Regions from separate parts of the Homo sapiens genome. Here all the other regions are linked to region 3. The links are contacts of gene promoters, found by promoter capture Hi-C in human tissues and cell types (Jung and others, 2019). All regions are on one chromosome and are shown on one strand. The core of a region is centred on a gene start or on the middle of the fragment in contact, and the rest is flanking DNA. Distances in the headings are between cores, read along the strand shown. Region 1 has its middle 16 kb from the start of ALG10. Region 2 holds the start of ALG10 (ALG10 alpha-1,2-glucosyltransferase). Region 3 holds the start of PKP2 (plakophilin 2). Region 4 has its middle 110 kb from the start of ALG10.

Region 1 (3,099 bases), core at 270-2,769, 1.1 Mb after region 3:
CACACAGACCCACAGATAAATGGGTGTGGAGAGAAAAATAGTTATTTAGAGATGATAGCCAGGTTTCAGTTAAAACTAGAAGAATGGCTCTGTGAGACAGGCCCTCCACTCTCCTGTAGATCCTGTTGTAAGTGATGCAGAAGCCAGAGAGAAGGTTGCTCTCCATCGGAAACATGAGGAGTTTCGGAGACCTCCCTAAAATATTTGGCCTGAAAGGGTTTGAAGCCAGGAGGAGAGATGCAGTCTTAGGAGAAACGTTTCATGAGCTGTAGCAGGTACCCTATCAGTCTTTCTCAGTAAGTACTGTTCTATGTAATTTTTATATTTTCCTTGCAACGCTATCACTCTCTAAAGGTCTAGTGAAGAAATCAAATTTAGATGAAGAAACCTAGCTTGACCTAGAATCTTCACTGTGTGTGTGTGTGTGTGTGTGTGTGTGTGTGTCCGTGTGTGTGTAATGTATACATTGGGTCTTTGGGCCAAATACACTGTAAGGTTTCAGAGGTATAAACAGGCCCTGGGCTTTGGAGAACCATGGGAGGGGATGATCTTGATCTAAGTCAGTAGTTTTTACTTAGCCACATCTAGAAATCTATGTCTTGGTCATAAATTTTGTTCTTTGAAATGCAGGGAAATGTATCATAAAATGCAGGAAATGCAAGGAAAAGTAACACATTAAAGCTAATTGGTTATTAATATTTTAAGAGCATATGAGAATGTCATATTCTATTCCCTCCAGCTCTCCAACCATATCCCCGACACATACCCACACACTGCCTGCCCGCACGTAAGCACAAGTATTTCTGGGGATCATGAGCATGAGAACTTTAGGGGTATTGCTAGGAAAAGAAGGAAGAGAGTAAGTAGGAAGACTGAAGACAGAGAAAGGAACCACCAGAAAGAGTAGAAAAAAAGAGAGGAATCCTTTCTTCACATACCAGTGACTCTAAGAATACCTTTCTCCATTAAAATAATATCTCATCCAGGAGGCACGTTCAAATGAAATACACGTGGAATACTGATATGAAAAGACAGAAGAATATAATAGGATCTGAGTTGAAAGACCGTGCTTATCTCTTCACTTGTACTATAATAATTTACAGTGATGTTCTTTAGTTGGGGTAACTGTGATGGGCAACGCTGAAACCCTTTATGCCAATTTTGTTTTCAAAATGCATTGTCTTAAATTTTCCCTCAAGGTGGCACTCTTGGACAGCTTTTCCAGTTATTAGTCTGACAGGAACTTGGTACCATTTTACTTACCTTCATAATGTCACAGATGCTAGTGATTTTTTCATTTTTTTAAATGCATTCTTTGAACATTTTTAGCTTTAAGCAAATATATTTGCTTATTTTTGTCATTGAGCATTTTGAAAACATGTGGTTAGAAGCTTGAAGCAGATAATCATAGCTGCATTCTATTCCCCATAATTAAGAATACGTAAGGCCTGGCACAGTGGCTCACGCCTGTAATCCCAGCACTTTGGGAGGCCGAGGCGGGTGGATCACCTGAGATCAGGAGTTCGAGATCAGCCTGATCAACATGGAGAAACCCTGTCTCTACTAAAAATATAAAATTAGCCGGGCGTGGTGGTGCATGCCTGTAATCCCAACTACTCTGGAGGCTGAGACAGGAGAATCGCTTGAACCCGGGAGGCGGAGGTTGCGGTGAGCTGAGATCGTGCCATTGCACTCCAGCCTGGGCAACAGAGCGACTCCATCTCAAAAAAAAAAAAAGTATTTAGGGCCGGGCGCGGTGGCTCACACCTGTAATCCCAGCACTTTGGGAGGCCGAGGCGGGCGATCACGAGGTCAGGAGATTGAGACCATCCTGGCTAACACTGTGAAACCTCCTCTCTACTAAAAATACAAAAAAATCAGCCGGGGGTGGTGGCGGGCGCCTGTAGTCCCAACTACTCGGGAGACTGAGGCAGGAGAATGGCGGGACCCCGGGAGGCGGAGCTTGCAGTGAGCGGAGATCGCACCACTGCACTTCAGCCTGGGTGACAGAGCGAGACTCCGTCTCAAAAAAAAAAAGAATATGTAGAAACCTTGATATTTTCTCTTTCTTTCCAATTGGAATACCAGTCAAACCTGGAATTTATAAATAGTTTTAATAAATGTGGAATTTGTTTTATATATATATAGTAATATATAGAGAGTAATAAAAATATAGTAATGTATATATAGTAATAAAAGGCTTCCAAAAGCTTCTCTATGGGAAATTCTTGTTTCCCTTAATCAGGCCATTAGAAAAGCAGCCTGCCATTCTCTGATAGCTGTGCTATAGAGCAGGTTACTTGATAAGGAATGAAAGCAGTGATTCTATTTGTTATGTAATGTGAGTGACATGGAAGGTAAATTTTTTAAAATAGTCATGGATTTTAGCTTTCTGAAAGGAATGCAATTTGGAAGTTTCTCCAAATCTCCAAATGGTTTTGAGTTACATATAATGCAACCTGACACCTAGCTTGATGTTTGAATTCTGTGTAGCTAGAATGTTGATAGACTGGATCTTTTCTGTTTTGTAATGTTTGGTATTATACTGGACCTTTCCTTGTGTTAATTTTTTCTCTTTATTAACATATGAAAAATTCTGTGAACTATTGATCATCCAATGAGATTTTCTCCGTTTCAAAAGACAAATAATGCAATTTGGAAGACTGTAAATTTGTTTGCATGTAATCTGAATCTCTAGATATACTCTAATTTTTTTTCAGTAAATTCTGAGTTAAATGTTTATCATTACAATGTCAGAGGATTAACTTAATTTTTCTATCTTCCAAATCCAGTTTTCCTTCATCAAGAACAAATTTTCATCGAATTGAAATAATGGTGTAGTTTTTGGAAGAAAACTAGCTTATTATGAGAAATAATTAGCAGGCATCTAAGAAAAAAATTTTAATTGAATTTGGCTTCATATTTTTTAAGGGCTTTGTAATTTGGGCTTAATATTTGATAAGGGTAAATTAACCAAGATCAAAACCTTTAAAATATTCGAATTGATAACTATTTTGTAATTATTGAAATAACTTTTCTCTAATAAGTAAAGGAGAAATACATTGAACAAAATAACCAGCCAACTTTCTGCTACACACT
Region 2 (3,432 bases), core at 897-3,396, 1.1 Mb after region 3:
ACTCTACAAAGAACTCTACTGGGCCCATGGAGCTTCTTAGCATTCTCAGGTAATATGTTTTACATCAATCGTTTCCAAATATGAAGATTATTATTCAGTGATTTGAGATGGCTCTCTACAATCTAGTTTTTCACAATGTTCCCCCAGCAGATTTTGATGTAATTAGTCTGTAACATGAACATTTTTTTAAAAGATGAAACTTGTATTTCAACTTGGTGTATGGAAACAGAGGAGAGTGGAATGTAAATGTAAAGTTATTGGGACTAGTGAAACATTCAGTTCAGTATACATTGTAGATTATTTTAACCTATAAGGCTATGAAGTTATTTTATTACTCTTGGTCTGATTTTCTAATTCCTACACTTGGTTCTGACACTAATTTTTTATGTAATTTTAGGTAAATCATTCATTTTTTTAAAACCAACTTCTTTTATAACATGAAGTCAAGTAGATTATTAATAAAGATCCCTACCCATTCTAGAACCCCATATTTCCTTGAAACTTTCCATTTTATGTAAAGGGATGTGTGCAGCATGTATAGGAGTCAAATGTTTAACATAAACTATTGGTGGCAATTGTTATGAAGAAAAATGGAGAGCATAAATGTCTAGTCTTGTTCTACTCCCTTTAAAAACGACCCACTATTTCTAGGGTGGGTCAGTAAGCTGCAGAGTATATATAACACGATTTAGCAGGTCAACAGGTCAGGAGCTAATTACTTGTAGATCACATCAACCTCTTGAAGACTGAATCATCTGGAGATGTGTTACAAGTGACTTAAACAGATAAGTACAGCATGGACTCAACAATAAAATGGGAGATAATGGTTAAAACAAAGCTAAGCATCACATCAGAGTAGGATCCTCACATGACTTTATTCCAGTAATGTAAATGTTCCCATCCCAGCCCTCATTCACCACTACTTCCTCTTATCATTGAGGAAACAGGCAGAGACAGAATGGAAAGGCAGTCAGCTTAATTTAAGAAACTTTCTTAAGTTTAGAAATACTGAATTAGTTTTAACCCAGAAAAAGAGCTCAATTGAGAACTCTGAGGTTTGCAACCTTAAATCCCGCCTAAATTCTGATATATTCCTGCCAAAGGCAACCTGATTGAGGTTACCTGAGAAATAGTTTTTCTACAAAACATGGCCAACCATGCTCAAGACAAAATTACAACACATAATTTATCTTCGGCATTCTTCAAATTATTTACCTCATCTCCTGCCCCCAGCACCTAATCCCAGAATACAGGAATTTGATGATGTCTACACAGCCTATAAAAGTCCACAAATTTAAGTGCCTACTGTGTGAAAGCCATTTTGGGGACTACAAACATAAAGGATGTATAATGCCACCCACTAAGATGTTCACGCTTATGATTTAGTAGGAAAAACAGAAGGCTGCCTTACAGATATTAACAACCAAATTTACAGGCACACCTAAAACATCCCGAATTCTAAAATATATATGTATTTTCCAAATCCTACAGGGTAATATGACTATGAAAGTGCACTAGGAATGTCAATTTAACTAAATCCTCTGAGAGCATCCACATTTTGAAAGAGTTCTCTTTTAACCTAAACAAACAAACGAACAAACACTCCTCTCACTGAAGTTCATTCGGCATTGACGGGTCTCTGGTTCTTCAAGTTTTCATCTAAAACTCTCAGTCTTTGCTATCACAACCAACGCACCCTTCCTACACTCCAAAGTTGATGGAATGAAATGTCTTGGAATTGAGGGTTTAATTAATTCGGATCACTGGAGAGAAATAACAGAAATAACGGGGGAAAAAATGTGTCCATTTTAGGGCTTGGAATTGGAAACGTGGGGAAACGTCGCCACCTTCTGGTAAGTGATGGAAGTGAGCAGGAAAAAAGATCCAAGCTAAGAAGCGGCTTTTTTTTTTTTTTTTTTTTTTTTTTTTTTCTAAGCAGCAAGCCACGCACCTCCCGCGCTGGCGAAATCCGAGACCCGCCCCTTCCGGAAGTTTTGACACTTTGTGCGCCCCGGGCAATGCGATTGAGAGGGTAATCATCCGGTCCGTTATCTAAACCCGTCACTCCGGGAAACAGCGACCCGATCTTTCCGGATCCGCGCTCTCCCAGCATCCTTTGCCTTCCGGTATGTGGCCCCGTCTGGCTAGTCCCGCCTAGCGCGCCCATTTCGAGCCCAAGTTTCCAGCTCGGGTTTCCAGGCTCAGAATTTTCCAGGAGTAGGTTCTTGGGCAGTGGCTGTGGGAGCTGGAATGGCGCAGCTGGAAGGTTACTATTTCTCGGCCGCCTTGAGCTGTACCTTTTTAGTATCCTGCCTCCTCTTCTCCGCCTTCAGCCGGGCGTTGCGAGAGCCCTACATGGACGAGATCTTCCACCTGCCTCAGGCGCAGCGCTACTGTGAGGGCCATTTCTCCCTTTCCCAGGTGGGGTCCCCAACCTGTCCCCACCCCAGGAGAGGCCTGAGAGGTCCCAGCGTCCCCACGTCCTCCCATCCTTAGACTTCACTCGTCCTGTTCCACCCCCTCAAGCCTCAGAACATGAAAGAAACTGGGTATAGTCTTTTGTTCCTGTCTCTGAGATCTGTGAAATATTTATTAAATGAATGAATAAACAGCAGATCTGTCCTCCAGGAAGGAGTGATCTGGGAGAATACTCAACGGGGAACTGAGCCCTCCTCTTGGCAGCTGACGATATCGATCCCACTTTGTCTTTCCTTGTTTTAGGATTAAAGGCATTCGGGTGCTCCTTGGAAATACCAGAAAACTTTCCTTTAGCTCACCTGTCAAGCACCTCACTGTGCATTTTAGGGGTGGGATAGGGTGGACTGGAGGGATCTTCAGCTACCAAAAAGTGACAATTTATAATCACAAATTCCTTCCCTGGGTATTTTTAGTGAACTGTTAACTGGATAAACTGGCAACCAGTCAAGTCACATCATTTTTGAGTATATATTTGACTGTGCAAGTATGTACATATAAATATCAAAATAAGCATCCCCTGCTTCTCTGGTGACACAATATAGGGTACTGGCTAGAAATATAAAGTCTGTTTTAGAGAAAGATCTGATCTTAAATCTTGGTGCTGTGATTTACTAGTTTTGTGATCTTGGAGATGTTCTGAGTTTCAGAAATTCAGGTTACTCATCTGCAAAATGACAATAATCTTTACTATAGGGCATATTGTAACGTTAATACAGAGGGTTTGGCAACAATTTCTGTCTCAGTTTATGTTAGCTGTCATCATGGAGCCTGTGGTCCAAATGTTTTCCTAAACTTAAGAGTCCCAAACAATGTTTCCATGCTTTTAAAAACTGGAACATTTGCAGTTTATTTATCAAAATAAAGGCTTTTAAAGAACATTTCTTGGAAAATAGAAATAGATTTTAAGTTGTTGTTGTTTATTGGTTGCTGCTACCTGAACCATCACTAAGCTGG
Region 3 (2,962 bases), core at 151-2,650:
TGTTTGAAATCTCTGGTCTGGCCTGTTAGAATTTTTCTGTTTTCCTAATAGAAACTAGAATGGGTTAGCCTACATTCGCCAATGCCCAAGTTACTTCATACAGAAACAACTGAACGTTGCAGGAAACAGATATTCCAACTTAATTGCTCAATTTCTTTCCTCTTCTTTTTGCTATAAGCCAACATAGTGCTTTTATAATGCAAACTCACATACACAGCAACAAGAAGTAAAACAAGGGTCACTGAGTTGATCCCATCACCTGACTTCAGCAGGGGAGAAAAGGATACATCATGATCTCTAATTTTCACAAGTGGCTTGCCATCTTCTTTCCCTTCCACCTCCCCCGTCTATCAATCATGAACATAGTGTGCATGTGTGTGCTTACACCCCTTTCACCTTCGGGTTTAATTTTTTGGAGGGATCAGACTTGCATCACGCCCGCACTGGTGGGGGTAGGAAGCGCAGCTAGGCGGGCACGGCTGTTGCCGGCAGGGCCAAAGTCCCCTACCTCCTCCTCGGCGTGTTTGTTCCCTGGACCAAAGCCTCCTAACTACTTTTCTTCACTCCCTAGATCCACCACTCGCCTCCCACACAGGGTGGAGCGCCCCGAAGTACTTGCATAAGACAGCACAATCCCAATTTATAGGTTGTAGGAGCGCCAGTGCTGTCGGTTTTTTTCCCCAAGATATTTATGGGGGTCATTAATTATTTAACAAATCTAATAAAATTGAAGGGCTCCTTCTCCCAGAAAAAGATCGTACACACCAAAAATTCTGCATAGCATCTCAAGGTGTTTATAGACTCCCTGAACCTTCAAATTAAGTCCGCACCAGTGAGGGGCGCGGACCGGCGGAGTAGAAAAAGAAAGGGGTGAAATCTTGAAGTGAGTTAGTTAACATTGATAGATATGTACAATATTTAATATACATAGGTACCTATATGACAAAGCTGAGTAATAGGTTATGGAAAAGAGTGCTTTCCACAAGCAAGTCGGTCATACCGAAGACGGCGAGCAACAGGTGGGCAGAACACGGGGTCCCGCACTCCCAGCACGCGGGGTGAGGGCGGGATAGGAGGAGGTGACCGGGTGTGGGGCAGGGGGCGGCGCCGGGGAGCGGCGGGCTCCACTCACCGTTGCCCACGGAGCTGCGGCCCTTCCGGGCGAGGGTCTGCTGCACCTGCTCCTGGATCCGCAGGCTCTTGACTGTCTGGCCGCCGCGGCCGCTGCTCCCCGCCAGCTTCAGCTTGGCCTCGGAGGGCAGCGCCAGGCTGGAGCTGTCCAGTTGTCCCAGGATCTGCTGGCCCAGGACGGTCCGGATGTAGCCGTACTCAGCTGGGGCGCCGGGGGCTGCCATGGGGCCGGTGGGGGCGACCGAGCTGCTCGCCTGCCTCTGGACTCGCGGGCGAAGCCGCCACGGAGCTGGGGGCGCTGGCGCGAGCCCCGCCCCGCTCGAGTCCGGCCCCGCCCCTGGCCCGCCCCCCGCGCCGGTGAGAGGCCCGGGCCGGGGGGGAGCTCGGCCTCGTGGGCCGGACGCCCGGCCTTCCCTGAGGAGGGGGCGCGGCTCCGGCCGGGCACGCGCAGTCGGGCCCGGGGGCGGGGGCGGGGGCGGGCCGGACCCGCTGAGCGCGCGGACACCTGGAGACTTGTACCCGCCCGCGGGGAGGTGGGGAGAGGGGCGCGGTTCGCCTGGGGTCGCGCACGTTGTCGGAGTCCCAGCGGATACCGCCTGCCGGGGCCGCGCCCCGCTCTGCCCACGCCCCGCGCTGGACAGGATGGATTTCCGCTCGATGCAGGGAGGGGCTGCCCTGCAGGCAGGTGAGCCCTCGAGAGTCACTCCTGTTCTTGGACTGAGGCTTGCCTCCGGGATCCCCGAGCGAGTAGTATGTCTGGTTAGTCAGGCTTTGTCGCACTGTTGGAAACGTTTCCTGGTTTTCCTGGACCTGAGGGTGAGAAAGGGCTATTTGGTCAGGCGGAAAGGGCAATATGAGGGAAATGTGCCAAGAAGATAACGTGTGAAATAAAAGACTTTCTAAAGAGAGTGTTTTTTTTCTTAGTACAACGTCAGGACTATGTACTTTTTGCACAGATGCAGTCCCAGAAACATATGTTCTTCCTCATTGAGAGCTTCTGTTTTCTCTTGGATACACAAATTGTACCCAGTACTCTTGCTAACCCATTCCTCTCTTACGAACACACCCACACAGAGAAACTCCAACAAGAGGCTCTAGAGAAGAAATGAATTTTAATAGACGATGCTTTTTAAATAGCCCTGCTAACGTTGATTAAGTCCTCTTTATTACAGGCTCTTTGTAGAGAGATCCACGGAGAGGGCCTCCAACTTTCAATCGAATCTTCCACAACTTGTATTTATCGTGCTATTAATTATGTTTCACCGCAGTTGACTACTGAGAACTTGAGAGCTAAGCTCAACAGAAAGGATCCTTGACCTTAAAGTTTACAACCAAAGCCACTTGTCCTGATTTGCCTCTTTGGACTTAAGAGGCAGAAAGAAAAACATGTATCCCTGGTATTAAGATAATATTCCCTTTGATTGCTTGGGTTTGTATGTTCACTTTCCCTCAAATCACTCAATTGCTGCAAAACCCCACTTACTCAAGTCTGAAGTGTTTGGAGAACGCAGCTTCCCTCGTCTTTGTTTTCCTACCCACACCCTTCTGCCTTTAGACACACACTGAATGCTTAGACACACAATGCACAGGTATATGGCCTCCCTTTTTACATGAGCGTCCAGGGAGTGAAGAGGAAACCAAAGGACTGAAAGCGTGGACAACAGAGTAGTGACAGTTCCGCCACCCTTTGTCAGCAGGCCACATGGCTAAGTGGGAGCCATATGGATGTGAGTCCTGGAAGCAATTGCTCCCACCCCAATAGAATGGACCACTATTTAGGCAAATTACACCTTGTGTAAAGCTTGCTTATGTAGCCAGGTGGAAACATCCA
Region 4 (3,391 bases), core at 560-3,059, 1.0 Mb after region 3:
TTTCTAGATGTAGAATCATGTCATCAGCAAATAGGAATATTTCGACTTCCTCTCTTCCTATTTGGGTGCCCTTTATTTCTTTCTCTTGCCTGATTGCTCTGGCCAGGACTTTCGATAGTATTAAAATATGTCAAACAGAAGGAGAGGGCATCCTTGTCTTGTGCTGGTTTTCAAGGAGAATGCTTCTAGCTTTTGCCCATTCAGTATAATGTTGGCCATGGGTTTTTCATAGATGACCCTTTTAATCATGAGGTACATTCCTTTAATACCTAGTTTGTTGAGAGTTTTTAACATTTTGAATTTTATCAAAAGACTTTCCTGCATCTATTGATATAATCATGTGGTTTTTGTCTTTAGTTCTCTTTATGTGATGAATCACATTTATTGATTTGTGTATGTTGAAGCAACCTTACATTGCAGGGATAAAACCTACTTGATTGTGGTGGATTAGCTTTTTAATGTGCTGCTGGATTTGATTTTCTAGTACATTTTTTAGGATTTTTGCATCAATGTTCATCAAGGGTATTGCCCTGAAGTTTTTTGTTGTTGTTGCTGTGTCTCTGACAGGTTTTGGTATCAGGATGATGTTAGACTCATAGAATGAGTTGGGGGGATTCCCTCCTTCTCAAATTTTTGGAATAGTTTCAGTAGGAATGTTACCAGCTCTTCTTTGTTCATCTGGTAGAATTCAGCTGTAAGTCCATCTGGTTCTAGGCTTCTTTTGGTTGGTAGACTATTTATTACTGATTCAATTTTAGAACTTGTATTGGTCTGTTTAGGATTCATTTTTCTTCCTGGATCAGTTTTGAGAGTGAGTGTTTCCAGGTGTGTATCCTTTTCTTCTAGATTTTCTCATTTGTGTGCATAGAGGTGTTTATAGTAGTCTCTGATAGTTAGTGGTATTTCTGTGGAGTCAGTGGTACCATTCCTTTTGTTGTTTCTAATTATGTTTATTTGGATCTTTTCTCTTTTATTCTTTATTAGTCTAGCTAGGGCTTTAATTACCTTATTAATATTTTCTTATTTTATATTATACTTTACGTTCTAAGGTACATGTGCACAACTTGCAGGTTTGTTAAATAGGTATACATGTGCCATGTTGGTTTGCTGCGCCTGTCAACTCATCATTTACATTAGGTTTTTCTCCTAACACTATCCCTCCCCCAGTCATTTACATTAGGTATTTCTCCTAACGCTAGCCCCCCCACCCCTTGACAGGCCCCAGTATGTGATGTTCCCCTCCCTGTGTCCGTGTGTTCTCATTGTTCACCTCCCACTTATGAGTGAGAACATGTGGTGTTTGGTTTTCTGTCCTTGTGATATTTTGCTGAGAATGTATATGTGTCACTTTTTTTTTTTCATCCAGCCTATTATTGATGGACATTTGCGTTAGTTCTAAGTCTTTGATATTGTGAATAGTGCCGCAGTAAACATACGTGTGCATGTGTCTTTATAGTAGCATGATTTATAATCCTTTGGGTATATACCCAGTAATGGGACTGCTGGGTCAAATGGTATTTCTAGTTCTAGATACTTGAAGAATTGCCACACTGTCTTCCACAGTGGTTAAACTAATTTAGACTCCCAACAACAGTGTAAAAGCGTTCCCATTTCTCCACATCCTCTGCAGCATCTGTTGTTTCCTGACTTTTTAATGATCACTATTCTAACTGGCACGAGATAGTATCTCATTGCGGTTTTGATTTGCATTTCTCTGAGGACAAGTGATGATGAGCGTTTTTTCATATGTCTCTTGGCTGCATACATGTCTTCTTTTGAGACGTGTCTGTTCATACCCTTTGTTCACTTTTTGATGGTTTTTTTTTTCTTGTAAATTTGCTTAAGTTCTTTGTAGATTCTGGATATTAGCCCATTGTCAGATGGATAGATTGCAAATATTTTCTCCCATTCTGTAGGTTCCCCTTTCACTCTGATGGTAGTTTCTTTTGCTATGCAGAAGCTCTTTAGTTTAATTAGATCCCATTTGTCTATTTTGGTTTTTCTTGCCATTGCTTTTGGTGTTTTAGTCATGAAGTCTTTGCCCATGCCTATGTCCTAAATGGTATTGCCTAGGTTTTCTTCTAGGGTTTTTATGGTTTTAGGTCTTACATTTAAGACTTTAATCCATCTTGAGTTAATTTTTATATAAGGTGTAAGGAAGGGACCCAGTTTCAGCTTTCTACATATGGCAAGCCAATTTACCGAAGACCATTTATTAAATAGAGAATCCTTTCCCCATTGCTTGTTTTTGTCAGGTTTGTCAAAGATCAGATGGTTGTAGATATGTGATGTTATTTCTGAGCCCTCTGTTCTGTTCCATTGGTCTATATACCTGTTTTTGTACCAGTACTGTGCTGTTTTGGTTACTGTAGACTTGTACTATTATAGTTTGAAGTCAGGTAGCCTGATGTCTCCAGCTTTGTTCTTTTTGCTTAGGATTGTCTTTGCTATGCGGGCTCTTTTTGGTTCCATATGAAATTTAAAGTAGTTTTTTTCCAATTCTGTGAAGAAAGTCTTTGGTAGCTTGATGGGGATAGCCTTGAATCTATAAATTACCGTGGGCAGTATGGCCATTTTCACGATATTGATTCTTCCTTTCCATGAGCATGGAATGTTCTTCCATTTGTTTGCGTCCTCTTTTATTTCATTGAGCAGTGGTTTGTAGTTCTCCTTGAAGAGGCCTTTCACATCCTTTGTAAGTTGGATTCCTAGGATTTTATTCTTTATGTAGTAATTGTGAATGGGAGTTCACTCATGATTTGGCTCTCTGTTTGCCTGTTATTAGTGTATAGGAATGCTTGTGATTTTTGCACGTTGATTTTGTATCTTGAGAGTTTACTGAAGTTGCTTATCAGCTTAAGGAGATTTTTGGCTGGGACTATGGGATTTTCTAAATATGCAATCATGTCATCTGCAAACAGAGACAATTTGACTTCCTCTTTTCCCAGTTGAATACCCTTTATTTCTTTCTCTTGCCTGATTGCTCTGGCCAGAACTTCCAGTACTGCGTTGAATAGGAGTGGTGAGAGATGGCATCCTTGTCTTCTGCCAGTTTTCGAAAGGAATGCTTCCAGTTTTTGCCCATTCGGCATGATATGGGCTGTGGATTTGTCATAAATAGCTCTTATTATTTTGAGATACGTTCCATCAATACCTAGTTTATTGAGAGTATTTAGCATGAAGCACTGTTGAATTTTATCAAAGGTCTTTTCTGCATCTACTGAGATAATCATGTGGCTTTTGTCATTGGTTCTGTTTATGTGATGGGTTACATTTATTGATTTGCATATGTTGAACCACGCTTGCATCCCAGGCATGAAGCTGACTTAATAGTGGTGGATAAGCTTTTTGATGTGCTGCTGGATTCAGTTTGCCAGTATTTTATTGATGA

What was found. The method cuts DNA at HindIII sites, captures the fragments that hold promoters and counts their contacts. A contact is called where the count stands out against the background at its distance.
Region 1: a contact is called between a fragment that was not itself captured here and the fragment with the promoter of PKP2 in region 3, in 1 of the 25 tissues and cell types used here (dorsolateral prefrontal cortex).
Region 2: a contact is called between the fragment with the promoter of ALG10 here and the fragment with the promoter of PKP2 in region 3, in 2 of the 25 tissues and cell types used here (mesenchymal stem cells and mesendoderm cells).
Region 4: a fragment that was not itself captured here is called in contact with the fragment with the promoter of PKP2 in region 3 in 1 of the 25 tissues and cell types used here (dorsolateral prefrontal cortex).

The regions. Positions count from the first base shown.
Region 1 is chr12:34,037,353-34,040,451 of GRCh38, forward strand. No RefSeq gene overlaps it. Among named protein-coding and RNA genes, the nearest start is that of ALG10, 16 kb to the left of the region's middle. The HindIII fragment of the contact is 3,582 bases long and covers 1-3,099 here.
Region 2 is chr12:34,020,350-34,023,781 of GRCh38, forward strand. It overlaps ALG10 (ALG10 alpha-1,2-glucosyltransferase), which reads left to right and starts at 2,147. Exons shown (of 3, transcript NM_032834.4): 1 at 2,147-2,421. The coding sequence starts at 2,251. RefSeq lists silencers at 1,904-2,053, 1,967-2,153. The HindIII fragment of the contact is 12,723 bases long and covers 1-3,432 here.
Region 3 is chr12:32,895,377-32,898,338 of GRCh38, forward strand. It overlaps PKP2 (plakophilin 2), which reads right to left and starts at 1,401. Exons shown (of 13, transcript NM_001005242.3): 1 at 1,133-1,401. The coding sequence starts at 1,355. RefSeq lists silencers at 1,400-1,509, 1,710-1,809. The HindIII fragment of the contact is 8,511 bases long and covers 1-2,962 here.
Region 4 is chr12:33,913,943-33,917,333 of GRCh38, forward strand. No RefSeq gene overlaps it. Among named protein-coding and RNA genes, the nearest start is that of ALG10, 110 kb to the right of the region's middle. The HindIII fragment of the contact is 4,943 bases long and covers 1-3,391 here.